2 separate regions of the Homo sapiens genome follow, and region 1 is linked to region 2. The links are contacts of gene promoters, found by promoter capture Hi-C in blood cells and fetal thymus (Javierre and others, 2016). All regions are on one chromosome and are shown on one strand. The core of a region is centred on a gene start or on the middle of the fragment in contact, and the rest is flanking DNA. Distances in the headings are between cores, read along the strand shown. Region 1 overlaps LINC02446 (long intergenic non-protein coding RNA 2446). Region 2 holds the start of KLRC1 (killer cell lectin like receptor C1).

Region 1 (4,052 bases), core at 137-2,636, 110 kb after region 2:
GGTGCCTTCTTAGCTCACTGCAATCTCAGCCTCCCAAATTGAAGGGATTCTGCTGCCTCAGCCTCCTGAGTAAGCTGGGACTACAGGTGTGAGCCACCACACACAGCTAACTTTAGTATTTTTTGGTAGAGATGGGGTTTCATCATGTTGGCCAGGCTAGTCTCAAACTCCTGATATCAGGTGATCCACCTGCCTCAGCCTCCCAAAGGGCTGGGATTACAGGAGTGAGCCACCATGCCCAGCCCTAAAAAACTAATGTTATGTTATTGTTAACTTGATTTTTTCTTATTAACATATGATGTTCCAAGGAGTCATTGTTAAAAATTGGAGTAACAAGGAGAAATATGAAGAGAGAAAAACACTTCCTTATAAAATTACATTAATATGTTTCCTTTCTATAATTTCTATGCAACATACTGGGAATCACACATTAGTTTACAACCCAATTCATAAATTAGCATTATGCCAGAAGCATTTCTCATGTCATTGAATACTTCATAAGTCATTTGAAAGTGTGTATGTTTTTTAATTGTATGATTGTATCATATATACTAACCCTTTCATTATTGTTGGACCCAAGATTTTACCTGGTATTTGACAATTCCAATAATGCTAAGGTAAAATCTTGAGTGTGTACCATTTTGTCCACATTATTTTCTGAAGATAGATTTCTAGTAGACTCATTGGCTCAAAAAGTACTACCATTTTTTAAGGTTATCAATATATTTTGCTAAATTTGTGTGCAGTAGTTATCTACTAACATTTGCTACAGCAGTTTATGAGAATATAGTTATTACTTCATTCTGACCAGCAAGACTAATTTTCAAATAAGCCTTGATTTTAGAGCTTGGTTTATGTGGTGATGCCATCTGGTGGCCTAGTACAAAATTACAGAATCAGAAGTGAAAAACCTTTTGAAAACTGTAATGAGCAAAATTAAATTTATAAGGTGATGGCAAATAGCACAAGTCTTATACGTTGTCAGAAAGCATTCTTGCTGTTTGGATTTCTAAAAATTATCAGGAGCCATGTAAAATGAAGATTACAAACTCAAACAATGCTCATTCATTCATCTCTTCAACCTGAGTTTTTGGAGTACCTACCACATGGTAGTACTATTCCCTGCTGATGAAAAAGATGAAGTCTCCATGCATGATTTCCAGGAATGTGTAGTTTAATGGGGATACATAATGCAAATTTACCACTATAAATTTTACCAAAGGCTTTCACAAGTGGTGACTAATATTTACTAATATTTGTCATTTGAATCATTTTTATCAAATGTATGATATGTAATTGTGGTTGACTTTCTCTAAAATAACTCCAGTCATCATTCCACTTCTTGGTATTCATGCCATTGTATAATCTTCTTCCCAGAGTGTGTGCTCAAGTTGGCATCTCTGTTTCTCTTTCTCTCCCTCTTTCTCTCCCACTCCCCTCTCCCACATACACGTCCCCAGCAGAAAACAGAATAACAAACTGCCATGAAGTGAGTAGCTCTATGGAGAGGTCTATGAGGCAAGGCATTGACATTTCTCCTGTTAACAGTGAGTGAGGACCTCACACCAGCCAACAGCATGTGCATGAGGCTGCATATGAGTCTGCCCCAACTGAGCCTTCAGATGACTGTAGCCCTCACCCACACCCCAAAGGCATCCTTGTGAGAAACTCTAAGTCAGAGTCACCCATGGCTGGATTCCTGACCCAAAAAAAGCATAAGTTGTGGGATAATTTAGTAATTTGTTACACACAAATAGTTAACTAATTAACTAATAAAAAGAATTTGAGCCTGGCCTGGTGGCTCATGCCTGTAATCCCAGCATTTTGGGAGGCTGAGGTGGACGGATCACTTGAGGACAGGAGTTCAAAGATCAGCCTAGCCAACATGGTGAAACCCCATCTCTACTAAAAATACAGAAATTAGCCAGGCATGGTGGCCCATGCCTGTAATCCCAGCTACTCAGGAGACTGAGGCAGGAGAATCACTTGAAGTCGGGAGGTGGAGGCTGCAGTGAACCAAGATCGCCCATTGCACTCCAGCCTGGGTGACAGAGCAAGAAACCCTGTCTTAAAAAAATAAAAAAAAGAAAGAAAGCTATTCAAACATTTGAATAGTGATTTCAACATAATTACTCAAGTCCTATACAAAATTACTTAAGTCCTATACAAATTTAAACTACAATTACAGATTTAGTTAAGCTAAGTCTTTTGAGCACCTCAAACACCTTAAGTAGCAAATATACCCAAAGAAAATTATTACAAAACCTATTGCTTACTCTTAAACCTATCCTAAAATATAACAATAGTTTTTAAACTTCATTTCTTTTGTTATTCCTATAATTTTTATTCTTCTCTAAGGCTATAATTCCACTTGATAACTTCCATTAGTTGTATTAATGCATCCTTTTACATCTTTCTGGGCTTGTAGTGATCTCCCTAGACCAATAAGCAAAATATTTCAGTAAATGGCTGGTCAAGCAACTGATTTTTAGTCAGTTTGGGACCCGTTTGTTTTTGCCACGATAATTAACTCCAGCTGCAGGCCATGAAGTCATCTCCTATTTTAGAGTTAAACTTCTTTTGTTATAAAAATAAGACATTTCAAATTCTCATCTTTCACATGTTTTTGGATTTTTATAACCTAATATCTCCATCATAAATGATACGTTTCAAGTCTCAACCAACATTTCATTATGTATTATCCTATCTCTATTATATACTGATATTTTATGTTAGGATTATTACAAATTATGTATGCTTTATTGTATTATTTAAGGGCCACTTAGAAATTCTATATCCTAGGAAAAGAGAAATGAAAGTTTTGTAGTAAGCTTCCTTTTCATTATTATTATTATTTTTGAATTATACTTTAAGTTCTGGGATACATGTGCAGAACGTGCAGGTTTGTTACATAGGTATACACGTGCCATGGTGGTTTGCTGCACCCATCGACCCGTCATCTACATTAGGTATTTCTCCTAATGCTATCCCTCCCCTAGCCCCCCACCCTCTGACAGGCCCTGGTGTGTGATGTTTGCCTCCCTGTGTCCATGTATTCTCATTGTTCAACTCCCACTTATGAGTGAGAACATGTGGTGGTTGACTTTCTGTTCCTGTGTTGCTTTGCTGAGAATGATGGTTTCCAGCTTCATCCATGTCCCTGCAAAGGACGGGAACTCATCCTTTTTTATGGCTGCTTAGTATTTTATGGTGTATATGTGCCACATTTTCTTTATCCAGTCTATTATTGATGGACATTTGGGTTGGTTCCAAGTTTTTGCTATTGTGAACAGTGCTGCCATAAACATACATGTACATGTGTCTTTATAGTAGAATGATTTATAATCCTTTGGGTATATACCCAGTAATGGGATTGCTAAGTCCAATGGTATTTCTGGTTCTAGATCCTTGAGGAATCGCCACACTGTCTTCCACAATGGTTGAACTAATTTACACTCCCACCAACAGTGTAAAAGCGTTTCTATTTCTCCACAGTCTCTCCAGCATCTGTTATTTCCTGACTGTTTAATGATTGCCATTCTAAGTGGCATGAGATGGTATCTCATTGTGGTTTTGATTTGCATTTTTCTAATGACCAGTGATGATGAGCTTTTTCTCCTATGTCTGTTGGCAGCATAAATGTGTTCTTTGGGGGAGTATCTGTTCATATCCTTCACCCACTTTTTGATGGGGTTGTTTTTTTTTTCTTGTAAATTTAAGTTCCTCGTAGATTCTGGATATAGCCCTTTGTCAGATGGATAGATTGCAAAAATTTTCTCCCATTTTGTAGGTTGCCTGTTCACTCTGATAATAGTTTTTTGTTTTTTTTTTCTGTGCAGAAGCTCTTTTGTTTGGTTAGATCCCATTTGTCAATTTTGGCTTTTATTGCCAGTTTTTGGTGTTTTAGTCATGAAGTCCTTGCCCATGCCTATGTCCTGAATGGTATTGCCTAAGTTTTCTTCTAGGGTTTTTATGGTTTTAGGTCTTATGCTTAAGTCTTTAATCGATCTTGAGTTAACTTTTCTATAAGGTATAAGGAAGGTGTCCAGTTT
Region 2 (3,896 bases), core at 75-2,574:
AAATTAAATATTTGTATATGACAGAAAATGCTATGTGACACAGTTAACTTATGCATAACCTAAATAGTATTAGGAACACTACATAAATTGTTAATACTTACAGAAGTATTGGTAATTTAATTAGTAATTGGTAATTTATTTCCTGGCTAAATTATGAACCAAAAAATGATAAATAAAAGTATAGGTAATTCATGTTAAAGCACATTTCATTTAAACTTATAGAATGATTTTATGGTTGTCAAAGTGAGTAAAGGCCACTTTAGTTGTATAAGTACTTGTAAAATTTCAGATAATGTAATTAAATCATTTAGTCAATGGGCTCTGGAGTCAGTGAGATCTAGAATTAATTCTAGCTTTGACACTTATAATGTGCGACCTTTAAAAAGTTATTCTATTTTTAATAACCCAGTTTGTTAATCTAAAATGGGCATAAGAACATATAAAACGTTGCATGTAAAACATTTACCACTCAACCTGGCACTTAAAGTTCTCAATAAGCATTAGCTACTTTAATTATTATTTTAGTCACAATTGTTATGTTACTGTTTCTGATTCATGTCAGTTAAAGCATGGAAAATAAATCTTCAGATAAGTCTCCTATGTCCATGCGCTACATCTTTTTTTGCAATATTTTGATCAATTTTTAAAAAGTATTTTTATTGCTTTGTAATACCTTTAGCATTTTATGTAATCTACCTCATTCTGATTTTTATTAAAAATAAAAACTGCTTTTCTCTAATCTACGTGTCTGAGGAATTGTATTTGGCTTTCATCAATTGATTGATTTATTTTAATAATCTTTAATGGCTAAGCTAAATATAAATTATTATTCAAAGATACATGATGTACTGATTACAAAATACAAAATTAATTGTTCATTATTGTGATGTTAATAGCTTTCCCTTAAACGATATTGATCAACAAACCCACTAGATTTCCACAAACAATAATTTGAAAACTTTAAGAAATCCTTCAACATATTTCATATTTTAGGTTTTTACCCTGAGTTATTCAAATGAAGACAGCAATATTCTACTTTGATTTTATTGTATATTAATTATACCTCCTTTGTATCATATTGAGCACTTGAAATCACCCACTAAATGAGGTAGGCTAGTAGAGAGTTGGAGAGTAGCAATACATACCTTCTGTCCCCAGAAAGTCACACATCCTTTAGTGGAGAGGCCAGGTTAGTCTCATAAAAAGGCCTGCTATAGCTGTGTAATAAAAGGTGAAATTTAAAGGCATAAATCCAAGACAAGAACAAACAATGCCTGCAATCTTCGCAGACTGCCCTGTGAAGGCTCAGAGTGAGTCAAGAGTGGAAAAAGTAGATTTCTCATCAACGTGTTACTAAGGTTTGAACAGGAAATTCTACACATGGGCTATTGTGAAATCAGTTTTATCTCATCACACACCTCCAAAATATAGGATACTTGGTCTATTAAAAGTACAAGGTTGACTTTGAAAGTGTGTCATTTAGTTGGTTCATTTTTCAAGTGCCTATGAGAATTTTTTTTTTTTCTGTCTTGATCACGAACATTGTCAACCCTCACCTTGTTAAGAGTGCCTTTTAGACTAGGTTGCTAAATCTTAACATTGCATACTTCTTTTCTTTATATTATTTTATTATGTCACTTCCATTATAATAGAAAACATTCTAAAACTCATAGTAATATTATCAACTGATATCTACTGATTTTTTCCTTAATTATTCTGAAAAATTACTGCAGTAATTACTCAATTGATTGTAGCTGGCACAAAAAGCATCATTGCCAAAGTTATATTATTAACTTCTCTTAGTTCTTAAATTTTTGCACTTAATTTTTAAAAATAGATTATTTAATCTTCAGATTACCCTTGATAAAAATATCTTGGATAGGTAAAATATTAATCAATTTTGAAATATATTAGCATACCAGAAATTGAAATATTAAATAGCTATTCATTACATTCTTCATTTATTCATCCTCCGCCATAACAAATTATGTCGACTTTCATAGAAATATTTAGTTGTAAATGACAAAAACTGAAGTCAAACTATGTATGGGGAAAAAGTAATTTTAAAATCTTACTAGGAGGAAAGTCAGTAAATTGGCAGAATAGGTGGTCCCCCACACATATGCCCCCACAGCAACAATAATTTTTCAGCCATCCACAGACAAAAGTTCCTTTGAGGGAGTTTGGAATTCAAGTAGGAGTTTGTAAAATGCCAGTGGAACCCAAGACCTAGGAAGGTTGTTTTAGGGAATAGATTTGCATCCAAGTGGCAGACTTACCAACAGTGATTCCATCTCCAGACCTGAAAAGGGACCCATCCTCCTGTGCTTGCCTTCAGCCCCATTTAGGCCTTGGTCATGCTGCCAAAACCATTTGCCCAGGGGCCCAGGAGGAGACTCACACACTAGTGTCTCAGGAGGTAGGCATATCAACTGTAGTCTCAATGTAGACCCTGAAACAGCCCTCTAACTTGGCTTTAACTAGTGTCAGCCACAACTTGAGATCAGTCCTTCACCCACAGAGACTTCCTGGGAGACATATACATCTGTACCTCTGGGGCATGCTTGCTGACCTCTGTCCTACAGAAGATACTAAAATGGCCCTGAATCTCCACTCAAACTCCTCTCAACTGTGACCTGAGTTAATCACAGGAAATTGCTGTGAGACTCAATCATCTTTGTCAGCAGTACAGGCTTGCTGACTTCAGTTCCACGGTAGTTTCTGAAACAGCCTTGAATCTTGACCTTCACCCTTCTCAGCTGTGGACTGTGAGCAGTCTTGCCAGCTCAGGGATACAGAGGGAGGACATGTGCATCCATGTCCCAACTAGGAGACCATTGACCTAGGTTTCACAGCAGATCCTTTAATTGGACAGAAAAGGGGCTTCGACACTTCTCAGCTATGCTAGAGAGCAGTTTGCCCATACAGGGACCTGGAGAGAGACATCATTAGTGCCCCTGCAGGCACAGACCTTAGTTTTATTTCAGATCTTGAAACAATTCTGGATCCAGCTCCAGCCCAACTCAACTACAGTCTGAGGCAAATCTGCCTGCCCACAGACCTGCCAGAAAACACACTCAACCATGACCCCAGAGACAGACATGAAGACACTGGTTTCAGCTATAGACCCCGAGGAAACCTTGTGACTTAGCACTAACTCCTCTGTGCCACAGGTTGAGGAACCCACTCAGAGACCCATGAGCAGCCTTCCCAGCAAACTAGATAAACTCTTCCCCAACTACACACCTAATAATAGACCCACCATTTACAGACCTTGAAGTGGACCCTCATCCCCTCCCCAGCCCTATACAGTATGATTCTAGAGCCAGTTTGGCCCTCTGAGGCACTAAATAGGATACAAGCCTGCTAGAAGCCCTAGTAAAAGGATCATGAACCAAAGATCCCACTCTGGACCCGTAAGCAACCATGTGATCTGGCTGTAACCCCATTCAACCATGATACTGAAGGCAATCTCATCAGCCCAGGACACTAACAGGAGAAGCTTTTAACCTACCGAAACCAGTCTGTAAAGACTGAAAGAGAGTCTGCTCTTTCAAATGCACAGACATCAGTACAAGGATAAACAAATAACAAAGCATCAGACAAATATGACACCACCAAAGGAAACTAATAAAGCTTTAGCAACTGATCCAAATAAATGGAGATCTATAAGTTTCCTTTAAAGTAATTCAAAACAATCATCTTAAAAAATCTCAGTGAGATGCAAAAGAAAAGAGTAAACAAAAAATACAACTAAAACAAAAAATACATGAACAAAATAAAAATTTAATAAAGAAATATAAACTATTAAAAAGAACCAAACAAAAATTCTGGAGCTGAAGAACACAATGAAAGAAATAAATAAGTCAATAGAGAGTTTTAATGCCCGACTCAAT

Evidence for each region. The method cuts DNA at HindIII sites, captures the fragments that hold promoters and counts their contacts. A CHiCAGO score of 5 or more calls a contact.
Region 1: a fragment that was not itself captured here is called in contact with the fragment with the promoter of KLRC1 in region 2 in 1 of 17 cell types (total CD8 T cells); the score reaches 5.8 in total CD8 T cells.

Annotation. Positions count from the first base shown.
Region 1 is chr12:10,561,639-10,565,690 of GRCh38, forward strand. The region is part of intron 1 of LINC02446 (long intergenic non-protein coding RNA 2446); the gene reads left to right. Among named protein-coding and RNA genes, the nearest start is that of LINC02446, 10 kb to the left of the region's middle. The HindIII fragment of the contact is 2,885 bases long and covers 1-2,829 here.
Region 2 is chr12:10,452,053-10,455,948 of GRCh38, forward strand. KLRC1 (killer cell lectin like receptor C1) reads right to left here and starts at 1,325. Exons shown (of 7, transcript NM_002259.5): 1 at 1,146-1,325. The HindIII fragment of the contact is 4,540 bases long and covers 1-3,500 here.